Linked DNA regions of Homo sapiens: all the other regions are linked to region 5. Evidence: promoter capture Hi-C in 16 types of primary human blood cells and fetal thymus (Javierre and others, 2016). All regions are on one chromosome and are shown on one strand. Each heading gives the region's core, a stretch centred on a gene start or on the middle of the fragment in contact. The rest is flanking DNA. Distances are from core to core; before and after follow the strand shown. Region 1 overlaps ASAP1 (ArfGAP with SH3 domain, ankyrin repeat and PH domain 1). Region 2 overlaps ASAP1 (ArfGAP with SH3 domain, ankyrin repeat and PH domain 1). Region 3 overlaps ASAP1 (ArfGAP with SH3 domain, ankyrin repeat and PH domain 1). Region 4 has its middle 190 kb from the start of ASAP1. Region 5 holds the start of ASAP1 (ArfGAP with SH3 domain, ankyrin repeat and PH domain 1). Region 6 has its middle 150 kb from the start of ASAP1. Region 7 overlaps ASAP1 (ArfGAP with SH3 domain, ankyrin repeat and PH domain 1).

Region 1 (3,072 bases), core at 44-2,543, 210 kb after region 5:
GTCTGGATTAGGGGTTCTGTGTGCCCTCCTCCTAGGTTTGTACTATTAGAGTAGCCTCTGGTGAGATATGGTTTTAAATTTTAAATGAATTAAAATAAAATTTAAAATTCAGTTCCTCAGTTTTAGCCACATTTCAAGAACTTAACAGCCGTATATGACTAGTGGGTGCCATATTGGATAGTGCAGAAATAGAAACTTCTCCATCATCACAGGAAGTCCTGTTAGACTGATACTGTAGGAGAACATGTATCCCATTGTATTGCAATTACTAACCATCTCTCTTGGAGTAGATAATGATTCTTACCTTTGTTGATTAGGATCACCTGAAGAACTCTTAAAAACAAAAACAGGAATCTCTCAGACCCTTACCCTCGAATTGTTCCAGAGTAGAGCCTAGCTATTGAGATTAAAAAAATATTATTCCCCAGCTGATTCTAACTTGCAGCCAAAATTAAGAACTGTTGCACTGGCCTATGAGTTTTTTGATAAGACTAGTACTATGTTTTTCGTTTTTGTAGTTTATGCATTTGTCAATGTAATTTGTTTGTTTGAAAAGATATTTATTGAGCACCTATTATATTCTCCTGTTCTGGGTGTTAGGTGTTTGGCACATCAAAGTCTCTGCCTTCATGAATTTTACAATCCAGTAGGGGAGAGATAAATGTTAATCAGATCATCAAACTGGGAAGTATTTATAACTAGAAACTAGGAAGCGCTATAAAAGAAAGCTTACAAAGTGCAAAGGGTGAAATAGGAAGAAGGATCTGAGGTAGCGTGAGGAAGGTGCTAAGGGAGTACCACTTGGAGGAAATGATATTCATTTTGTATTTATACTGTACTAGGCTAAGCCAAACAAGCCAATAAGGTAAGTACCATTGTTCTCATTTTATAGATGATGAAACTGAAGCTTAGAGAGACAGAATAACTTGTTCAGGGTACCATACCTAGCAAATAATGGAAAGAGAGCCCAGCTGACCCCAGCTTTGCTCTTTACAGGTACTCTGTATTTGTCTTCTACCTAACACATGGTAGGGGCTCAACAAGGGTTGAGTGAATCGCTACATGTTGGCTGGATGTGTTACTACCTGGGAAGCTCTCTGAGACCAGCTATTAATATTCACTAATCATGAATATTCATGAATGGATCCATCAAATGGAAAATCCCAGCATTGTAACCTGTGGGATGACTTTGGTGTTTCCCAGATGAGACCACCAATAGTAGTTTCCATGGTCATGTCTCAGAAATATAGGGACAAACTCAGATCCCTCTGGGTTCCTCACAGACTATTGAGGCCTGATAGGGTTTCTGCAGTCACGAACAAGTATAGTATAGCTGGGTTTGTGGGCAGCACTATGACATTTAATTCTTTAAAAATGACTAAATGAGTAAAACAGTGGTGTTGCATAGCTTTCCATGATACATGCTCAGTGGAATCCAAGCTGTTCCCCTCCAAGGGCTTTTGGCCTCATCCAGAGAAACCACAAGAAGCTGAACCCTGCTATCTGTTTCCCAATGCATTTTCATAATTTTCTTGTTTTCTCACAATGCTTAAGTGATACAAAACCCATGTGATATTTTTTAAACATTTAAAAAGGATTTCTATATTTCTGGTTGGAGATTACCAATCACTCAGCTTCCCAAAGTGATTTGAAAAATGGCTAAACATTGTGAAGCTTCTTACTCTTAAAATGTATTATTTTTACACATAAACTTTTATCAGTACTAGTAAACATTATAAAAATGAGGGTTTTTTGGTTTTTTTTTTTTAAACAAATTGTCTCCATGCAAGCCCTTTGGTTTCAAGATTGTTCTAGGAATTTGTGTCTCACTTTTCCTTGTTGTGTATGAGGACATTTTAAAAAACAACACAAAACTCAATTCTGTGAACTACTTAGACCAATGGAAAATTCTCCAAGCCATTCAGTTTTCCTGTGTTGTTCTCTAAGTTTTGAAGTTTTAACATTATTAATCTGTGAAACACATTGTCGTTAAGGAAGTCTGCCTTAGTGGTCCCTCTCCCTTTCCCATTTTCTCCCTCCTTCGCCCTTTTGCTAATATATGATTAAAATGACTAGTAGTTTCTTGGGCACTGTGGAGGTTTTAATTTATTGTAATTCTTGGGCAATTTTCTTTAGAAAGATAGAGCCTAATCCCCTTTCCCCTTGAATGTACACCAGAGTTACTAACTCCCTTCTAATGAATAGAATGTAGTAGAGGTGATGCCATGTGATTTCCAAGGCCAGTCCATAGACAAGATAGCTTCAACCTCGTCCTTCTGTTCTTTTTCTGATCATTTTCTTTGGAGGAAGCCAGCTACCATATTGAGGATACTCAAGCAGTCCTATGGAGAACTACCACTCACTTACTAGCCATGCAAGTGAGACGTAGAAGCAAATCTAACCCCAGTCAAACTTTCAGGTGACTGCAGCCCTGGCAGACATCTTGATCTTGATCTTTGTGAGAGACCCTGGGTCAGTACAGTAGGAGTGGGGCTGGCTTTCCCTTGGAAGCATGGGCATGTGAATGCACGTAAGTCAGGTGTGGCTTGAGAAAAGAGCTTACTGCTTGCTTCTCAGTATTGTTTAAAAAACACAGTGAGACATACTGCACTTTTAGAAATGGAAGCATGTGGTTCATAATAAGCGTGGGTATACTGAGTTGGCTATTCTACCAAATGAATTAGGTTGAAAATGTTAATCTTTTTGAGCAGATACATTCTCACACAACACAGGTACAGGTATACACTTCTTTCTGGGACTAGGAACTCAGGATATTCCTGCTACTAGGTCTTTTTCTGTGTTAAAGTGTTGGCTTTTTTTTTCTTTGCTCAAATTAAATGAACATATTATTATATGGCTGGTTCCTTAGAATTTATGCCAGGATATATTCAGAATAAATGTTAGCTTATTGGTAACACATGGTGCCCCTTAGAATCTATAACATTGTTGGTCTGAAAGTTGAGGCTTGTAAATCCTTTAATATTTCTGGGCAGGAAAAAAATGACAGTGGTATATAATTTTATTACCAGCATATGATGTGGAAGTCATATTTTCAAAACACAGCTAAATTGT
Region 2 (3,418 bases), core at 233-2,732, 130 kb after region 5:
TGCTTGCCAGCCTAGGGGTGGACTGCAGCAAATTGTGTGTGAGGGAAGCCAGCAGTCTGCAGGGCTGAGCTGAAGTGGGGAGAGGAGAAGAGCATGGGACGTGGTGTCGAGTGCAGTGGCATTGACTGCAGACAGGCTGCTGCTTTACACTGGGGGATTCATTCCCTTTCCCCCAGTAAAGACTGTTAAAATATCAGAACTGATAGTATAAAGTCATGAGTTTTTTAGTTCATGCAGAATGTGGATCATGTCTGAGATAAAAATTCATAAGATTTTTGAATATCCTGGGGCTGATGGTTTTAGGCAGTGAAGTTAATTTAATTTTATTTTTTATTTTCTGTAGCTGAAACGTCTGCTTTTCTGTGAGGACGTTGATTATGTGTTCCACTGCCAAAAGAAGTTTCTCATTTTCAAACTGCAGCTCCCCTAGTTGGGCAATATAACTGTAATTTGAGAATCCCACAAGGGTAGTCTGTTACTCGGCAGATAACCCTACAGTAAATTTGCATGAAGGCATTATTTAAAACAGTTTTCTTCTCTGACCTATTATTGCACAGCAAAATAGCAGTTTCCTTTCTAAGGTAAGAGATTTGGAAGGAGGACTCAATTTATACGTGATCTCATTGAGAGTGAGAGCTGCAAAGATGAGGAAAAGAAGTGGACCTTTTAAAAGTTTTTTTTTTTTTTAAACGGTTATGTTATTTTATTTTGTTGAAGGCAGAGGATATGTTTTATTTTAGGGACCCACCAGAATTGCTTAGAAATTATCTGCAGGCTTTAGGGATTTTTGCTTATCAGTATATTTCATTTGCCCCATTGTTCAGCCCATCCACCACCTCCTTCCATTTGTTCTCAGAAACTAAACTAGGAGAACATAAGCACTTGGTTATGTGAAAATGTACTTATGATTCTTCCATGAAAACCTAAAGTATTAAAAACCCAACAGTTCACTTGTGTTCTTTCATGAACAGGTATGTGCATGCTATGATTGCTTTCATTTGCCAAGTCATTTTTTAATTTAATGAGCTGTCACTCTGCTGTCATTGGATCAGTTGTAGATGAGGGGACACCTTTTGGCCTTCATTTGATGTCTTTCTCACGTGCTTATTCCCTCATCTTGTTTGGTTGAAAATCACATTGGCAAAACCAAATCCAGAATGCTAGGGTATGACTAAATGGTAGAACAAGCTAAGCAACTATTTCTAGGGGGGAAAATTTCTGTGCTAGGCTTTGTTACTACAGTGGTTGAACATGGGCTTTAGAATCAGAAAGATCAGTTCAGATCCCCACATTGGAACATAAAAGTTGTGCTATCTTGATTTAATTTCCTTTAGCCTTGTTTTCCTTACCTATAAATAGAAATTATAATAGTACCCACCTGTAATGGTTGGTTCAGTGAGATAATGCCTGTGTATGCCTTGGGCCTGGAAATGTCCCTAATGCAGAGGACATTCACTATCAAAAGGGAGAGAAGGCCCCCTGGAGTTGCTACGGGTTGCAGTATTTTTTTTAAAACCAGAATTCCTAATGGGTTTTTTTTCCCCTCCTTTTAGTGATATTGTATTTTGCTTAAGTGTGTTAGATTTAGCTCTCGTCTGGTTTGTGTTCAAGCTCCCTTTCAAAGGTGCCATCAGTGCTCAAGGCCAGGGGTTCAGCTGCAGGGATGGTGGATGGTAGCCAGCTCTTTTAGGCATGGTACTTTTTTTTTTTTTTTTTAAAGACAGGGTCCTACTCTGTCACCCAGGCTGGAGGGCAGTGGCGTGATCACAGCTCACTACAGCGTCGACCTCCCAGGCTCAAGTGATTCTCCCACCTCAGTTTCTTGATAGATGAGACTACAGGAGCACACCACCACACCCAGCTAATTTTTGTATTTTTTTTGGAGAGACTGGGTCTTGCTATGTTATCCAGGCTGGTTTTGAACTCCTGGGCTCAAGTGATCCACATATTTACAGTGGTTGGTGTTCATTTAGAATTTAATGAGGTGAACAAGAGTATATTTGCACCTACATGTTCTAGGCTGAATTCGGATCTTCTCATTTAGAAGGAGTACAATTAATAAATCATTATGGATCGTATTCAAATTACTATTTTTTTTTGAGTTGTTTTTGTTTACTTAAAAGTAGATTTTTAACCATCTAGCTTGACATACTATTATTATTTAGCCTAAAATCTTTGCTTTCTATAATTATAAGTAACCTATATCACTTATTTTGCCTTTTTTTTTTTTTTGAGACGGAGTTTCGCTCTTGTTGCCCAGGCTGGAGTGCAGTGGCGCGATCTCGGTTCACTGCAACCTCCGCCTCCCGGGTTCAAGCGATTCTCTTGCCTCAGCCTCCCGAGTAGCTGGGATTACAGGCATGTGCCACCATGCCCAGCTAATTTTGTATTTTTAGTAGAGACAGGGTTTCTCCATGCTGGTCAGGCTTGTCTCGAACTTCCAACCTCAGGTGATCCTCCCGCCTTGGCCTCCCAAAGTGCTGGGATTACAGGCGTGAGCCACCACACTGGACCCTATTTTGCCCTTTTTAAGTACTGGCTTAACGAGTGAAAAAGATGCATGTGCACTGAAAAAAGACTAGGAAAAGATAGAATACAATGCCAGTAGAGATTGTCTCTATGAGACAGCATAGGCTATTGTTATTTTAGACGTAAATTTCTCTACTTTTCAAAATTACCACCTATTTGGATACCTTTTCTTAGTTTTATAAAATATGGCCATTGGGGAAAACTTGAAAATTGAGCAAAATACAGAGAAGAGAATTTTAAAATGACCCATGATTCCACCACTCAGATAACTACAGATGGCATTTTGGTGCATTGCACTTGTCACTTGTAGTCAGAACAGCAAATGTGCTTCATTTTCCAGGCCTGCAATTTGTTCCTTTTGCACACATTTCTGACAACCTGCCCTGGACTGCGTTCTCATAGAATGGCTGTCCTCCCCACTGTGGGAGCCCTTGCTGAGCCTAACAAATAAAGCCTCCTTCACAATAGAGCTAAAGAGGAGCTTCATCAGAGAAACACTGCCGCCTTAGTAGATACTGGCCCAGGTTGGTCTTGAGTCCCAAACTTGTACAGTGGGTTCTCAAAGTGTAACTTAAACATTATGTTGGCATCATGTTAAGCTTGTTTATTTATAGTAAAGCTCAAATATATAGGGAAATGGAATTGTTCCTGCATTGAGCCCATTCAGAAAATTTTCTGTCAAGTTTGGGCAGAATTTAAAGACTATTTCCTTTGGTGGGCATGAAGTAGTACTGTTTAACATGCTTGCTCAATAAAGTTTTCAGACTTTTTTTTTTTTTAACTAGAGAATATGTGATTTGGTGATTGACTCTATAAATAGTGTGACCCATTTTTAACTAGATTGCTGATATGTTTTTCAGCAGGACTTTGTGGTTTAGTTAATGAAATC
Region 3 (3,132 bases), core at 371-2,870, 250 kb after region 5:
AGTTAGTGTTGCTCAACCTTTTTTTTCCTCATTATGATCCAAAGCCTTCCTCCTTTTCCCCAAGAGCCTTTTTAGACATAGTCCCCCATCGCTCCCCCCCGTGAAATTTTAATACAGCTAATAGACATAGTTGATATCAGTTATATACTGTGGCCCTTTGGAGGGCCACAGACAGTTATAACAGCTAAGATTTTTTGGTTTTTTATTTTTTGCCCCACTCCCCAAGAACCAGTGTCTTAGAGCCTCACAGAATGTAGACTCTCAGACTATAGCTCTCTGGTATGCCAGCCAGTCTGTTGGTGTGTGATTGTTGGCAAAATCACAGACAGAATTGTCTTGGTAGAAATCCCTTTGTCTTTGAAATAAGAAAGAAGTGATTGTTTCTTAGATGTGTGTCACCAGAGAAGCCCTCTGGTGACACACATTGGGAAACCTTCCGGTGTGTAAAATTAGTTGTTGTTCAGGGAGAGTAAAGAGGTAGAATGACTGAGAATTTCAAGAAGCCTAAGATGAAAACAACAGGAAAGGGTTAGGAAGAAGTTAAGAGCAAAAAGGGGAAAACCTGTTCCCCGCCCCTCTCTGCTCCCTCATTATCTTATCCATATTTAGCATGCCATAGCATTTAAAATATAAACATGTATTCAACACTTCCTAGGTATCAGGGAGTAAGCTAGCACTTTTTACACATATTAATTCATTCCATCCTCACAACAGCTGCTTGCAGTAGGTTATAATATTCTACTTTACAGATGTGGTTAAGAGGGTCATGCACAAAGCCCTTTCAAGTCAGCGTTGGTCCTTCTCACACCACTCTCTCCCTCTGCCACTAACACATAATACATAATAGCATAATGTAGTAGAGTTGGCTGTGTAGTGACTGCCTCTGTTCCTAGAATATGAGCTCTCCACAGGTAGGAACAGTGTTTATTCATCTTTGCCTATCAAGCTTCTAGTGTAGTGTGTGGCACAGAGTAGATATCTTATTAATGATGGATGGATGGACAGGCTGACAGTTGAATACACTTATGTGTGAGTAAAATCATTTCTTGAGTGAGGGGACCCACAAACCTTTCCATCTATAATCTGCTCCTGCAGGTCTCTGCAGTCTTGGGTTCCACACCTACTAAAACTTGATTTTACCAAGATTACTTGGGGTCTCCTTGAAGACAAGTAGGTAAAAACTCTTCTCAGTCCTTGTTTTGGTTACTCCTTTCACACCTGACTCTGCCTCCCTTGGTTCCCTCCTGCCATTCTTCTCTGCAGCTGGGTAGCATCTCCATCTCCATTTCCTTCTCCTTTGTAGATTCCTCTTTGTGCCATCTTAAAATCAAGGAGACTCAGGCCACTGCCGCAGAGCAGTGGAAAAAAAAAAAAAAACTATTTCCCGGTTATAGATTGCACTTCCTAAATATCTCATCTTTTTAATGGAATCTAGGCATTAAGGATATAGCTGTGAACAGAAAAGTCAAAGTCCCTGTCCCCATCGAGGTTATGTACTAGTGAGGGAGACAGAATACACAAGCTGGAGGCATCACATTACCTGACTTCAAATTATACTACTAAGCTGTAGTAATCAAACCAGCATGATGCTGGCATAAAAACAGATGCATAGGCCAGGTGCGGTGGCTCACGTCTGTAATCCCAGCACTTTGGGAGGCCAAGGAGGGTGGATCACAAGGTCAGGAGTTTGAGACCAGCATGACTAATATGGTGAAACCCCATCTCTACTAAAAATACAAGAATTGGCCGGACGTAGTGATGCATGCCTGTGATCCCAGCTATTCAGGAGGCTGAGACAGGAGAATCGCTTGAACCTAAGAGGTGGAGATTGCAGTGAGCAGAGATCATGCCACTGCACTCCAGCCTGGGCGACAGAGTGAGACTCTGTCTCAAAAAATAAAAATAAAAATAAATGCATAAATCAGTGGAACCAAATAGAGAACCCAGAGATAAATTCACATGCTCACAGTCAACTTATTTTTGACAAAGGCACCAAGAACATACATTGGGGAAAGAATATCCTCTTCAATAAATGGTGCTGGGAAAATTGGATATCCATATTTAGAAGAATAAAACTAGACCCTATCTCTCACCATATACAAAAATCAAATCCAAATGGATTAAAGACTTAAATCTAAGACCTGAAACTGTGAACCTACCAGAAGAAAACTTTGGGGGAAACTCTCCAGCACATTGCTCTCAGCAAAGATGTCTTGAGAAAGACCTCAAAAGCACAGACAACCAAAGCAAAAATGAGCAAACGCAAGTGGGATCATATGAAGTTAAAAAGCTTCTGCACCACAAAGGAAACAATCAACAAAGTGAAGAGACAACCCACAGAATAGGAGAAAATATTTGCAAATTACCCATCTGACAAGGGACTAATAACCAGAATATATAAGGATCTCAAATAACTCATAGGAAAAAAATCCAGTTTTAAACTGGGCAAAAGATCTGAATATATATTTCTCAAAAGAAGACCTACAAATGGCCCACAGGTTTATTAAAAAATGCTCAACATCACTAATCATCAGAGGAATGCGAATCAAAACTTCAGTGAAATATCATCTCAAGCCAGCTAAAATGGCTTTTATAAAAAAAACAGTAATGGATGCTAGCAAGGATGCAGAGAAAGGGGAACTCTCATACGCTGTTGGTGGTAATATAAATTAGTACAACCACTATGGAGAATGGTATAGAGGCTCCTCAGAAAACTAAAAAGAGAACTACCATAAGATCCAGGAATCCCAGTGCTGGGTATATACCTAAAAGAAAAGAAATCAGTGTATCAACAAGATAACCCGTACTCTCATGTTCATCGGAGCACTATTCACAGTAGCCAAGATACGGAATCAACCTAAGTGTCCATCAACAGTTGAGTAGATAAAGAAAATACAGTATATATACACAATGGAATATTATTCAGCCATAAAAAACAAAGTCATGCCACTTGCCACAAAATGGATCCAACATTATGTTAGGTGAAATAAGCCAAGTACAGAAAGATAAGTATTGCATGTTCTGTCTCATGTGGGAGCTAAAAAAGGAAATTGATCTCATAGAGATAGAGAATAGAATGATGGTTACCAGAGGCTGGGAAGGATAGTGGGGAGGAGGGAATAAAGAGGGATT
Region 4 (3,445 bases), core at 190-2,689, 190 kb before region 5:
GATTTGGGTTTGAATTCTAGTTCTGCCATTTAGAGACTATACAGCATTAGAAAATATACTATGATCTTAGTTTTCTTCTTTGTGTAATGGGAGTAATAATAGCTTCCTATTTGTGAAGATTTAATATGGTAATATTTATAAAGCATATATTTCAGGGTCTATTAAATAGTAAATATTTATGAAACAGTAGTTGCTATAACAGCTGGTCTGAAAAATTAGTCAATTAATTAATTCAGTACAAGCCTTGTGCTAGGAACTGGAATAATGGATGAATAAGATGTCATACTGCCCTCTAAGAAGACAACCAACATTAAAATGATATGTTAATTTGATGTGAGACTAGCAATAAAAACAACATGCTAACAAAACACAGACAACAATATTTTTAGAGGAAGTGATCTTGGATCTAGGCCTTGGAGAATCTAGTTTTCCAGGTGACAAAGTGGGGGTGGGAATGAAGGAACACTATAGGCAGAAGAAACGTTAAGAAGAGATTCACAGAGCTGCTATAGCCATTTTAAAACATGGCGCCAAAATTCTTTGTCACACTTTCTATCTGTGAGAAGTGGAGTTTATGTCATCTGCCCTGAAATCTGAGTTCTGTGGCTGCTTGAGCATCAGAATACCATGGAAGTAAAACTGAGTTGTTCCAAAGCCCAGTCCACTCCCTGTATCTTTGAAATACTCACACTTGGTACCCATTTAGCATGCTGAGAAGAAGCCAAGAAACCATATGAAGAGGCCATGCATGTACAGCTTTTCCAACTGACAGCCCCAGCTGAGATCTCAGCCACCGGCCAGCTCCAAATGCCAGCTACATGAATGCACCATCTTGGAAGTGGATCCTCCAGTCTCAGTCTAGCAGCCCTAGTGGAAGCTGCCTGAAATAGAGATGAACCTTCCCTGCTAAGCCCTGTCCAAATTGTAGATGCATGAGCTAAATAAATGATTGTTGCTGTTTTAAGCCATTAAATTTTGCGATTATTTGTTATGAAGCAATAGTTGAGAAAGTTGACAGACTGTTTACAGACTGACAGATGCTCTGACTTTGGAAAGAATATAAGATGCAAAGCAGAGAATGGTGGAGGGGGCCTTTGATATATTCTGCCTGGAAGAAGATGAGGATTTGCTTTAAGTCAGAAGCATGGGGACACAGAGACATGAAGACCAATGATGAAATAGCAGTTTCAGACAGTCTCTACTACAGTATTTCCCATGTGATAGTCCAAAAAAAATTCTATGGTCACGTAAGTTTCATGGCCACACCCAGAATATATTAACATATTAAAGAATATTTCCAAATATATTTTGCCACCCACATACACTTTTGTTTCTGTGGAAGGCTAATAACATAGTGTGGTAATTGTATTCAGTGGGACCTCCTTTGAAAAATTCTACTCTATCTCCTCTAATAAGTTGAATATTTCAGAACTCATCTTGTCTTCACTACTTTGAAGAAGTCTTAACTGCCCCGAAAGGTTAATGTACAACACACAAAAAACTCTCCCTTCTGGCCTAATTGTTGCCTCAGGACAATCAGATTTATAGACACCAGCACAGTCATGCAGAAGGGCTCAAGGGGAAAAGAAGGTTTACGTTTTCCAAGAATCAAATCAATACCCACAACACTTTGACTTCAGAGCTCCCACACCTTTCATGAAGACTTGTCAAGCACAATCTGTTTGCAGGATGGTGTGTCTCAGGCTAAACAATCCCCATAAATACATGTGCTTCATCTATTTTCCTTATTTGTGCCAGGTGGATTTTCTGAAATTTCTGTCTGTCAAACCTGTATGAATCTCTTATAGGTTCTGGACATGCAAAACCACATCTGCAACCTCAGCAAAGGTCAGTCTTAGAGGACAGAATGTGGTGGGGGTGGGTGAGTCACAGGTGTTTTCCATTCATTCAATGAACTGTCACTGAGCACTGGGTAGGGTACAGGTTACACAGCAGGAAATAAGACAGGTCCCTGACCAAATGAGACTTAGAGTTCAGTGGTGAAGATAGGCAAAATCAAAGGAAGAAACAAATACACATGCCAAATACGGACAACTAACAAGTACCCTGAAGGAAACTCACAAAATGTCAAAGTGGAGAATAAAGAAGAAATTGGAGCCTATTTTAGACGTGATGGTCAGGAAAGATGAATCTGAGAACATGACAGTGGAAGGTGAAGACAGAAAAGAGTATTCCCAATAACTTTAGCAGCATTTATAGATGTGCCAGGTCAGTCGTACAAATCTTATAAGGTCTACTGAAGGCCCACTTGGTTTAATGCTCTTGGTAGAGAAATAACAATCAGTTTCGGGGGGGACCAGGTTTCTAATTGTTTTGTAAAGTGTTTTCATAGATTGGATTCCTCAGAAGCCGATTCTGACTGAAAAAAAAATGCATGTGAAGTAATTTATTAGGAATAATTTCCAAGGAAAACAAATAGAGAGTTGGAAATGTGGTAAAGGAAGAGAAGGAACCCAAGCAAAAGCTCAGTGTATTACTCTGTTTTCACGCAGCTCACAAAGACATACGCAAGACTGGGTAATTTATAAAGAAAAAGAGGCGTCTGGGTGTGGTGGCTCATGCCTGTAATCCCAGCACTTTGGGAGGCCAAGGCGGGCAGATTGCCTGAGGTCAGGAGTTCAAGACCAGCCTTGCCAATGTGGTGAAACCCCATCTCTACTTAAAATGCAAAAATTAGCTGGGCGTGGTGGTGGGCTCCTATAATCCCAGCTACTCGGGAGGCTGAAGTAGAAGAATTGCTTGAACCCAGGAGACAGAGGTTGCAGTGAGCCAAGATCACACCACTACACTCCAGCATGGGTAACAGAGCGAGACCCTGTCTCAAGAAAAAAAAAAAAAGAAAGAAAAGGAAAGGAAAAGAGGCTTAATGGACACACAGTTCCACGTGGCTGGGGGGGCCTCACAATCATGGCAGAAGAGCAAGGGATGTCTTACATGGCAGCAGACAAGAGAGAATGAGAGCCAAGCAAAAGGGGTTTCCCCTTATAAAACCATCCGATCTCATGAGACTTATTCACAACCACAAGAACAGTATGGGGGAACCACTCCCACGATTCAATTATCTCCCACCAGGTCTCTCCCACAACACGTGGAAATTATGGGATCTACAATTCCAGATGAGATTTGGGTGGGGACACAGCCAAACCATGTCCCTCAGTATTAAGTCAAGTATCACAGAGAAGAACTTGGGCTCAATTCCACAGGGGAACTTTCAGGACAGCATAGATCACACCCAAGTAGTTCCGACCAGAGGATTAGGGGACGAGGGTATTTACCCTCCTGCACCCTTCAGCACTGGTCAAAAGCTGCTGTCAGTGTGATATAAGTTCATAGGCATTTCTGGGCTTTGCAGGGCACAGGTGAAGCAGTCTCCAGCAATCTGAAGGCACCTTGCTGTCAGAGACACAGGAGCTGGCTGATGCAT
Region 5 (3,262 bases), core at 286-2,785:
AGAACAGCCATACAAGGGTTCTTCCAGGCAGAGGGGACGGCAGCTACAGTGGGCCTGGAGCAGGACCCTGGGACTCCTGGTGCCCAGCTCAGAGCTGTCCTACTGCTTCTGGCCACGGAGAGAGAATTGCAGAAAAGGAACAATGCTGGGTCTAAAACTGGTATCTGTTCCTTACTTGGAGTAAACGAGCTGGTACCCAACTTTCAGTTCCCAGCAGGTTCATTTCAGGCTTCTGTTTTCGCTCATGAGCATGTTGTTCCCTCTTCAAAGTCTGATTGGGTTTCAAAGGAATCTGAAACACTTACAGCAAAACCACCAAGCTGCATCCTCCAGGTAGACACCCCCGAAATGTGGCATTTCCGTGGGAAACCACAATGAATCACTCATTGGCTGCCCGACCTCTCTGCCCAGTCAGAGATTGATTTTGGTTTTCCCAAACTTTGTAAATCCGCTCCAGACTGTTTAACAACCCCCACTCCCCACTACACCCAGACTCTCAGATTAGGAGCAAAATCCCAAATTTTGTGAGGTTTTCTGTTTCGGATTTCACCAGAAGGGGGTCTGCCACAGCCACTAACCATTTCCTCTGCAGAGAGCCGTTTCTGAAATGCTGCAAAGAAAAACAATCACCCAATGATTAGGAGGGAAATTAAGTTCTAAAGAAAGACTACTGTCTCTGACTTTGAAAGTAGACATAGATATGCACAATATACATCCCACAAATTAAAATCCTCCTTTCTCTGATGTCTTTTAATGGTAATAATAAGGACAAGCATGGCTATCATTTATTTGGGCGTTTCCAATGTGCCAGTCCCTGTCTAAACATTCAGCTTCCAGATCAAACCTATGAGGGTGGAATTAACATCCATTTCATAAATGGAAACTGAGGCTCAGGAAAGTTGAGCGAGTTACTCAAGGTAACATGAGTAGAAAAAAGGCCATATTCCAACCGGACACAGAGCCTGCAGCCCACACAATTACTCTCCATACTGTTCCTATACTATCCTGACTGGGAAGGTCCTGTTCCCTTGGCACTGGGCAAAAATAAAATTATAAGAGCAGAGAGGAAGTGGTGAAAGGGGGCAGCCTGGTGAAATCATTCCTTTACTGAAAATAGGGGTAACGGCCAGGACAGTGCAGGTCCATCCTCTGCAGATGGAAGACAGGCACGTCCTTTGCCGCTGTCCCGGCCTTAGAAAGGCACCTTCCGCGTCCAGGGTTTTCTGTGGATAAATCCCACCCCTTCCACCTCAGGCGGGGAGGAGGCCGGCCGGCCGGGGCATGGGGCGGAAGGCGAAGGACGCCCGACCCCGGCCGAGGTCTGGGGCCCCTCCCACGCCCCCCTCGTGGCTGCCGGCGGGCCAAGGGTTAAGCGAGGCGGGAGCCCCCGGCGCGGAGCGGCTCGGGGCCGGGAATGCTTAGTCAGGATTCCGATTTCCTGTCGAAGTGTTTGGATTTCCTGAAACCCGCGCCCTCCGCCGCCGAGCGGGATCGTGCGAGCCGCTCGCGTCGCCGCGGCCTCCTCCCCCTCGGCACATGGTCGCCCGCCCCTTCCTGCGCCGCGCTCGGCTCCCGCGCCTCGCCTGGCCTGGCCGCTGCCGCGGGCGAGCACTGTGCGCTGGGCAGCCCCGGGCCCGCGCCTCCCGCCCAGCCGGCGCTTCCCGGTCGCAGTTCGCTTTCCCACCCGAGAGCCGCGAGCGCCCGGCCGAACCCGCGATGGAATAATGCCCAGCGGCCCGCCAGGTCCCGGTGAGTTGCGGGGCGCTCGGGCGCGCTCGGCGGGGCCGGGCGGAGTCGCCCACAGTCGCGGGCGCCCCCTGCCCAGTCTCTCGCGCGAAGAAGGGCGCCGGGACGGGGCGCGGGGCGGGCTCCCGGCTCCTCTCGCAGCGGGGTGTCCTTCTCCGCGGGGAGGGCGCCGGCCCTGGGCTGGGGCGTGTGCGGGACGCGCGGCCAGGCTCTGCGGGGCCGGGCGAGGCCGCCCGGTGGGGGGGGGAGGTCTCCTCGCCTCCAGCTCGGGAGAGGGGGCCCCTGCAGTGGGGCCGGGGACGGGGCCCGCCCTGGGGGGTTTCGCGTCCCCCTCCGGGGGAGGGCCCGGGACGACGTGCTTGGCGGCCCGGACCCCGCCGATGGGGCGCCCTCCCGGCATTGTCTCTGGTGCAGCCGAGGAAAGTTCCCCGCGGCCCCCGGCCCCTACCCGGACCCGGCGCTGCTTGGCAGGCCCCAGGCCACTTGCCTAAAGCAAAAGAAGAGAAACGAAAGGGAAGGGGGTGGGGGGAGTCCTACTTGGAGCTTGGGGTTGGCTCCTGGGCGGACCGTGAAGTGGCTTGTGTTTTCTGCTTGTACCATTTTGGGACCTGCTGCGTTTTCTGAGAGCGACATGAAGTTTCAAAGAAAAAAGAAACTTGCCGGTGTCCGGTTTTCTGCGGTTTGATACATCCCAAGAGGTTCATCTTGGGCACTTCTAAAGCAGTTTCCTTTAATAATGTGGTTTTCCAGTAGCTCAGGGAGAAGGATGGTCAACTGCAGACCATCATCGTTAACTTGACCTCAACTTTACCTGTACTCGTCAGGAAAGCAAAAGAACTTTCTCTCGCATTTTCCCCTGTCTACTCTGTTAGGTTATCTTGGCGTGATTGATTCTGGGATGACATCAGGACCTGGATTGCTGAGTAATGTTTTGGGATTGTAAAAGCTTATCAGTTTTTAGGCCAGGGTTATCTGTATTGCAACCTTCATCCCAAAGCCTTTCTGTTTTGCAATTGTAGCGCGGCCAGATAGCTTTAAGAAAATGCGGGTCTTCTGGAAACACCCAGTGAACAGTTTGGAAAGAAAAAGATCTTTGAGAACAACTGATTCACCCCCTTCAGAGAAGGCCCAGAAAGGTGACCTGACTTGCCCAAGATCACATGGCCAGGAGTAGTTTCCACTTCTTCAGGCTCAGTCCCATGCCCCTTCTGTGTTAGATTTTGATCTGTTAGCCATGAAACAGATTTGGAAACGTCTTCTTTGCGTCACAGCCTTCACCACTTTAGTGCCTTCTCTTCTGTCCTGTTAATGCTGCTATTTTTGAGATATGCACTTATTTCAAACTGCATATTTTGAGATAGGGAGTTAAAAAAAACAAAAATCACCTAACGCCACTAAGTGGATTTGGAGATTCAGCTACCAAATGGATTTGAAGTATAAAATGAGTGGCTTATTATACGGGGAATTACTTTCCCTATCCCATTCTTTTGTGCAAAATAGAAACTCCCAGGTCCAA
Region 6 (3,330 bases), core at 594-3,093, 150 kb before region 5:
CTCCCATGGCACCGACCAGAGACATCAGGCACAGGCAACCATCTCCAGAGTACATCAGCCCCTCGGGGACCTGCTCAGGTTGGCTGAATCTCTGCCTCAGTGACACATTTTGTGCTGAGCTGTGAGAATTGCTTGGGAACCAAGAGCTGCTGGCAGAAGGGCTAACTCTCAACAGCAGGAAACTTCCCATGGCAGAGGGCCCCCGCAATGGCAACCCCGTGCCTTCTGAGCTGGAGATGCCTCGCTGCCTGACCACATGGCACCATGAGTCTCTAGCTCCCACCACCACCCCAAATCCTCACCCTCAGGGCTCGGGCCCAGGTGCACAGGCCTGAGAGCTGGCAGAAAGGGAGTTGTCTACAGCCAGAAGGGGATTTTCTTCACCATCCCACCCAAACGTTGTTTGGCTGCCGCTGCCTCTGAGCTTTTCAGAAATGAAAAAGAGAGATAGGGAAGTGGGAGCCCTGGTGGGCTCTGGAACCCTTCTGTTTTCTCAAGGGCATGGCAGTAGGTCCAAAATGTCCTCTGGGTTTGAAAATGAAATGCCGGCACAGAGCAGATTCCTGACAAATGTGGCCCAGATGTTTCTGAGCGATTTATTTTTGCTGATGGAAAATGGCTGAGCTAATAACCCTCAGAAACATTTCTGTAGGGAGAGTTGAAGCCTATTTTGCCTCTGTGCTTGTGTTTTGCTTGTGGTTTTCTTTTACGGAAGAAATTAGATGTAGGAAAAAGCCCAAAAAACAACTCTGTCTATAACAGCTGATGCCAAAATCCCATGCATAGATTGTGTGACCTGATTTCTACCAATTATTGACAATTCAGTGAGGCCCAAGTTCTTCTCATCAATTACCTCATTTAATCCCTATGACAAGGAGGAGACCAAGGCTCAGAGCAATGACATTTCCTACCCAGCCAGAGCCACACGGCCTGTGACAGCATGGCTGAGAATCAAACCCCAAGCTTTGACTCTAGATCAAAACTCTTTCCACCACTATACTCTTATAGGGAAATGACAAGGAAAATACAAGGGTTAAAAGAGACTCTGAGAGGCTGGATGCAGTGGCTCACACGTGTACTTTGGGAGGCCAAGGTGGGTGGATTACTTCAGGCCAGGAGTTCGAGACCAGCCTGGCCAATATGACAAAACCCCGCCTCTACAAAAAAAAAAAAAAATAGCCAGGCATGAGGGTGCATGCTTGTAATCCCAGCTACTCGGGAGGCTGAGGCAGGGGCAGCAGAATCACTTGAACCCTGGAGGCAGAGGTTGCAGTGAGCCGAGATCACACCACCACACTCCAGTCTAGGAGACAGAGCAAGACTGTGTCTCCAAAAAAAAAAAAAAAAAAAAAAAAAGAGAGAGAGAGAGAGAGACTGTTAGCGGTCTTCTAATTGATCCATGGGCTTTTCGTCAGCACCTCAATTTTACACCCTAAACTTGGTCAGAGAGTCTAGTGAGTTTCCTTTTCTTTAAGGGAAAGGCACTGCTTTCTGGGCAGCAAGAAAAGGACTGTCTTTGATGTCCCCACTCCCCAACATCTTTTGGCAATGAGTGACTGTGCTATCTAATGCTATATTCATAGTGAAGTGAAATGGCTTTGAAGCAGACAGAACCAGGACCAAATCTAAGCTTCACCACTAACAAGCTAGGTGACTTTAAGCAAGTCAGTTATTAAAGTTCTCTGTGTTTAGTTTCCTAATTACCAGCCAAGAAGCTCTCTCTAGCTCTGTCTCTGTTGCTGTAGCTGCAGCCTATGGAAGGACTGTTGTGAAGATAGCTTCAGCATAGCCCTTAACACAGAGTCGGCTCTCTGTAAATGGTGGTGATTATTAACTATTCCATAACTATGGAAATGAGTGAGCAAGTGAGCAGTGAATGTGCTTCTCCTCCTCTGTGAGACTAAGAGAGACTCCATGATTGTCAAGTTTAGCCATGAGGAAAGGCACATAACCCTTCTCCTTGGTGCATTTGCCCCAAGTGGCTACTTTGTGCTTACAGGAATTTGCAAATGACATTACAAGAGCAGCATAATGGGCTGAGAGGAAACAAGCTTGCCATGACCTTCACCTCCTCTTGCTTCCACCTATTGGGATCCCAGGACTATATGGGATTCAGCAGGACTGCCTTGTTCAGAACCTACTTCCAAGCAAGATGAGACTTAAACCATCTCTAATGAACAATTATTGCATATCTGCCATGTGTCAGGCACTATGCTGGCATAGATAGGTAAGTCAGTAGGTAGATAGAACAGAATAGCTAGATAGATGGTAGACAGATAGATGATAGATAGATAGATAGATAGATAGATAGATAGATAGATAGATAAATAGATAGAGATAGATGATAGAGATAGATGATAGATATAGATGATTGATAGATAGATAGATAGATAGATAGATAGACAGACAGACAAACAGACAGATAGATAGATAATCTCAGATCATCTTATCCTTCCATAGAGGCAGGACAGGAGGATAGTGAAAAGAGCATAAACTATGGACTCAGGTAAGATGATTTGAAATCCTGGCTCAATCCTTTTCTCTCTGTGTGATTTTGGGCAAGTTGTTCTTCTCAGAATCTCTGTAAAAGGGGGAAATTACATCTGCTCAAATGAATTGTTTTTAATCAGATAAAAATCCTGCAACACACGGGACACTCTCTGGCACAGAGGAGAGTCACGGGGGAGCTGACTCTCATTTGTATCTACTCTGCAGAGTCGTTGCCATCATAGTGTACCGGTGAGAATGTTGAATTCCAGGACAGAAGGGGACTTGCCCAAAATCACAGAGTTAAGGGGCAGACATGGAAAACTGGTTCTCATGCACCCAAATCTATTTCTGTTCAAAGCTGCAAAAAATATTCACTGAGCACTTCATTAGGCACCCATGCAATGGGAGAAGGGCTAGGCATTTCTAGGAAATCCAGGATCCCAAGAAGCTCACATCCCAGTGGGAGAAACATTTACTTGGCAAATATTCATTGTATTAGTCCATTCTCACGTTGCTATAAGGACATATCCAAGACTGGGTAATTTATAAAGAAAAAGAGGTTTAAGGGAATCACAGTTCCACGTGGCTAGGGAGATTTCACAATCATGGAAGGTGTAGAAGTTGCTAAGGCACGTCTTACATGGCAGCAGGCAAGAGAACATGTGCAGGGCAACTGCCCTTTATAAAATCATCAGATCTCCTGGGACTTACTCACTATCACAAGAATAGCACAGGGGAAAAATCCACACACATGATTCAATTACCTCCCACCAGGTCCCTCCCACAGCATGTAGGGATTATGGGAGCTACAGTTCAAGAAGAGATCTGGATGGGGAAACA
Region 7 (3,368 bases), core at 419-2,918, 150 kb after region 5:
AGCCTCAGGGGAAAAGTCAAGATAACTGGATTCCTGAAATGGTATAACTTGGCAACTCGTCTTTTCTGTTCCTTAGCCTGTAAAGCATTATTTGGTTTTAGAAGAGGAGTAGCTCCTACTTGTGAAGGTCTTCATTGGAATGGCACATTGAATGCATGAACCCTTAAAATCCTTACTCCCTTTAACCCAAGCCACATCTCAGTGGCTTTAAAGCATATCAAAGCAAGGAGGGGAAAGTCTGTGTGATACGGTACTAAAATTGATCCTGTAGTACCAGGCATGAGGAGAGGAAGGAGGAGTATCATCATTATCCTGTTAAGGATTTGTCATGCCTCAGAGCATCTGCAAGGAAATAGTCCACAGATAAAGTTCAGCAAGTGATTTGCAATTGGTAGAGGTGGTTTGGCATTTTGAAAAGCTTTATAAATGTGACTGCAGCCTGAGAAGAATGACCACCACTGGAATGAGGGAAGGCTGGAAGGATTTAAGGGGTTCTTTATGAAATCAGGCACACATCCCCATGTCGACTAGGCTAGACTCAGGCACCATAATAGCCCTGGTTCAGGGTCACTCCTCTTTCCAGGAAGGTTTGGATCCTACAGTTAGAAAAGAGGAATCTTGGATCTCTAGGTAAGGGTTAGAGAAAGTATTCTGGGCATCCCAAGTTAGAATCTGGTGTCTTTGCTTAACGAGTTCTGAACATTTCATGTGAGGGAATATGGGCTACTGTTGTAGGCCTTGCTGTTTCACCTGAACCATCCCTGCCCTTGAAGGACTTAAAGTTGGAAGGAATGTGAGGAGGCGGAGTAGCACAGTTATATGACATCTAATCCAAAGTAGAATATGCGAGCCTTAAGAGAAGTGCAGAGGGCTGTGAGGAGTATGAAGTGGCTGGCAAATAGATTCAGTATTATATTTCATTTATTCATTCTGCAGATATTTATGGACCACCCTTTTATGTTGCTATTGCTGTGCTAGTATTGGAGATACAAAGATGAATATGACACCTCTCGGGCCGTTGCCAACTGTCGAGTACCAGGAAGAGCGCTTAGATAAATGACCATGTACAATGGGGTACGTGCAATTATAGGTCCACTGTTATTTGCTGTTCTGAATTCCAAATGTTAAGAGTTTTGACATGAAATTTTGTTTCATGAGGCTTTTAGAAGCTAAACTAGAAACGTACTGGATATTTAAAAACTGTGTTACCAGAATCTGATAATGGAGTTCTACACTAGTCCCTGTGGGGTATGTTGTATAATAAACAATAAGTATACTGTAATTTCTTTCTGAAATCTACAAAAGTATGAATTCTAAAACAGCCAGCCCCAGCTAAAGGATTGTGGATACAAGTAAGATACTTCAGGTGATTTGAGAGTTTACCTGGCTGTATGGGCTACCCTGGGAATATAACCACTCTTTATAACATCCTTTCTTCGAGAATGGTATGTGCTAAGTTATAAACAGCTGACTTAGGGCCATCATTTTAAAGTATGAAGCCTTCCAGTCTTCGCCTCCCCAGTCTTTTCCATTCTTAAAGTTTGGACCAGTCTGCAAGGTAGCTGCCTCCCTAAGGATTTGGGGTATTCTCTAAAATTTGAATATATGATATTCTTGTGCCCTTTGAATACGCTGTTTAAAAATAAATTTTAAAGAATATTCTCATGTAAAAGTAACACACATACTTTGGAAAATACAAAACATAGGAAGAAGGAAAAAATGGCCACATTCTTACTGTGAACACACTGATGCTTTTTCTGTGCATGTTTTTGTTTAATAGTGTTAGTCTGACGCCTTCTTATTCATTATAACATACCCATTTTCCCATGTTATTTACATAGTCTTGGTAAGTATAGTTTTTTTTTTTGTTTGTTTTTGTTTTTTGTTTTGAGATGGAGTCTTGCTCTGTCGCCCAGGCTGGAGTGCCGTGGCACCAACTTGGCTCACTGCAACCTATGCCTCCCGGGTTCAAGTGATTCTCCTGCCTCAGCTTCCCGAGTACCTGGGACTACAGGCGTGTGCCACCACGCCCAGCTAATTTTTTGTATTTTTAGTAGAGACAAGGTTTCACTGTGTTAGCCAGGGTGGTCTCGGTCTCCCGACCTCGTGATCCACCTGCCTTGGCCTCCCAAAGTGCTGGGATTACAAGCATGAGCCACCGCGCCCAGCCTTGGTAAGTATAATTTTTAATGGTTATACACAGTTTCATTCTGTGAATTTATCATAATTTGCTTAACCATCTCCCATCATTGGACATTGTTATTTGTCCTTCCCTCCCTTCTTTCCTTCTATAAGTAATGCTGCTGTGAACATCTTGCATTGACCAGATTACTGGGGCAGATTACCTGTGCTTCCACAGTGGTTTTACCATAGTACAGATGCCATCTTCTTCCCATAGTGCCCTTGCCTAGTACATTTTAAATTCTTGGAGGACAGAGTCTCCTTCACATTTGTCTCTGGGTCCTCTACACTGCCCTGCTTAGGGTCTTGAAGGTGATTAACACATTTGTTTAATGGATATGCAGTCCAGACTTCTGAATGCCCTTTTCCCTCTTAGAGTTAATGTGTAAGAGCTGGCAGTGCTCTGTAAATGCACAGCTGCAGGTAGGACACTGCGCCTCCAAATAAAACATGTCCTGATAAGCATTTGCAGGGAGGTTTATATTCTCAAAGATATCCTCTTTATTAACAGTTGTTTCAACAAGGAATTTTTTTTTTTTTTAATATCAGCTCTTGTAAAAGAATGGAATTACCCTAAGGAGTGAGTTCTGGGGACCCAAATTGAGGAATGGTGCCCTCGAAGTCAAATACTGGAACCAGAAAGGTTAGAAATAGATTAAAAGCCTCAGCTTTATCAGAAAAAAGCCACAGATGAAAAGCCTCAAGCAGCTTCCAGCATGGCTGAGGAGATAAGCTTCCCATATTTGCATTAATTAGCAGGAGCACCTAGCACTGATTGCTTGATGCGTGTAGCTGGAGCTCCTGCCAGGGGAGAAGAGTTCCACGCAGCATGGATGCAGGAGTCGGACTAGAGCACAGTTTGAAAGCGCTTTGGGATGGCCTCACCCTGCATGGGTGCTTGGTTGACTGTGCGTGGAGGTGACTAGAAAGGACAAGCCTGGGGAAGAGATAGGCTGGGGTAGGGACCTAACAGGGCAAGAGGGTATGTGTTTGAAATGTTAAGTCAGTTTACCAAACCTTCCCAGGGTCTCTGCTATATGCTAGACTGAGTGGGAAGGGCTAGGGGTATAGAGGTGACAAAACCCAAACACAGCCCTCTGAGCGTTCCCTATGTTAAAGGGCACAAATAGTTGCTATAATAATGTTCTATTAAATATGTAATTATGGCCTTTGACATAATCTGTGTC

Evidence for each region. Contacts are between HindIII fragments. The CHiCAGO score rates a contact against its expected background, and 5 or more counts as called.
Region 1: a contact is called between a fragment that was not itself captured here and the fragment with the promoter of ASAP1 in region 5, in 9 of 17 cell types (activated CD4 T cells, naive CD4 T cells, non-activated CD4 T cells and 6 more). The highest score is 14.3, in activated CD4 T cells.
Region 2: a fragment that was not itself captured here is called in contact with the fragment with the promoter of ASAP1 in region 5 in 2 of 17 cell types (activated CD4 T cells and total CD8 T cells); the score reaches 6.9 in activated CD4 T cells.
Region 3: a fragment that was not itself captured here is called in contact with the fragment with the promoter of ASAP1 in region 5 in 9 of 17 cell types (activated CD4 T cells, M0 macrophages, non-activated CD4 T cells and 6 more); the score reaches 9.8 in activated CD4 T cells.
Region 4: a contact is called between a fragment that was not itself captured here and the fragment with the promoter of ASAP1 in region 5, in 2 of 17 cell types (M1 macrophages and M2 macrophages). The highest score is 6.9, in M1 macrophages.
Region 6: a contact is called between a fragment that was not itself captured here and the fragment with the promoter of ASAP1 in region 5, in 2 of 17 cell types (endothelial precursors and M1 macrophages). The highest score is 8.5, in endothelial precursors.
Region 7: a contact is called between a fragment that was not itself captured here and the fragment with the promoter of ASAP1 in region 5, in 2 of 17 cell types (activated CD4 T cells and M2 macrophages). The highest score is 5.8, in activated CD4 T cells.

The regions. Positions count from the first base shown.
Region 1 is chr8:130,231,320-130,234,391 of GRCh38, reverse strand. The region is part of intron 4 of ASAP1 (ArfGAP with SH3 domain, ankyrin repeat and PH domain 1); the gene reads left to right. Among named protein-coding and RNA genes, the nearest start is that of ASAP1-IT1, 64 kb to the left of the region's middle. The HindIII fragment of the contact is 767 bases long and covers 910-1,676 here.
Region 2 is chr8:130,310,576-130,313,993 of GRCh38, reverse strand. All of the region lies in intron 3 of ASAP1 (ArfGAP with SH3 domain, ankyrin repeat and PH domain 1), which reads left to right. Among named protein-coding and RNA genes, the nearest start is that of ASAP1-IT1, 16 kb to the right of the region's middle. RefSeq lists an enhancer at 2,708-3,209. The HindIII fragment of the contact is 3,297 bases long and covers 1-3,130 here.
Region 3 is chr8:130,189,295-130,192,426 of GRCh38, reverse strand. All of the region lies in intron 5 of ASAP1 (ArfGAP with SH3 domain, ankyrin repeat and PH domain 1), which reads left to right. Among named protein-coding and RNA genes, the nearest start is that of ASAP1-IT1, 110 kb to the left of the region's middle. The HindIII fragment of the contact is 1,344 bases long and covers 949-2,292 here.
Region 4 is chr8:130,627,558-130,631,002 of GRCh38, reverse strand. No RefSeq gene overlaps it. Among named protein-coding and RNA genes, the nearest start is that of ASAP1, 190 kb to the right of the region's middle. The HindIII fragment of the contact is 9,665 bases long and covers 1-3,445 here.
Region 5 is chr8:130,441,947-130,445,208 of GRCh38, reverse strand. It overlaps ASAP1 (ArfGAP with SH3 domain, ankyrin repeat and PH domain 1), which reads left to right and starts at 1,535. Exons shown (of 30, transcript NM_018482.4): 1 at 1,535-1,749. RefSeq lists silencers at 1,451-1,550, 1,591-1,680, 1,691-1,850, 1,901-1,980. The HindIII fragment of the contact is 9,673 bases long and covers 1-2,694 here.
Region 6 is chr8:130,593,145-130,596,474 of GRCh38, reverse strand. No RefSeq gene overlaps it. Among named protein-coding and RNA genes, the nearest start is that of ASAP1, 150 kb to the right of the region's middle. The HindIII fragment of the contact is 421 bases long and covers 1,633-2,053 here.
Region 7 is chr8:130,287,707-130,291,074 of GRCh38, reverse strand. All of the region lies in intron 3 of ASAP1 (ArfGAP with SH3 domain, ankyrin repeat and PH domain 1), which reads left to right. Among named protein-coding and RNA genes, the nearest start is that of ASAP1-IT1, 7.1 kb to the left of the region's middle. The HindIII fragment of the contact is 2,496 bases long and covers 421-2,916 here.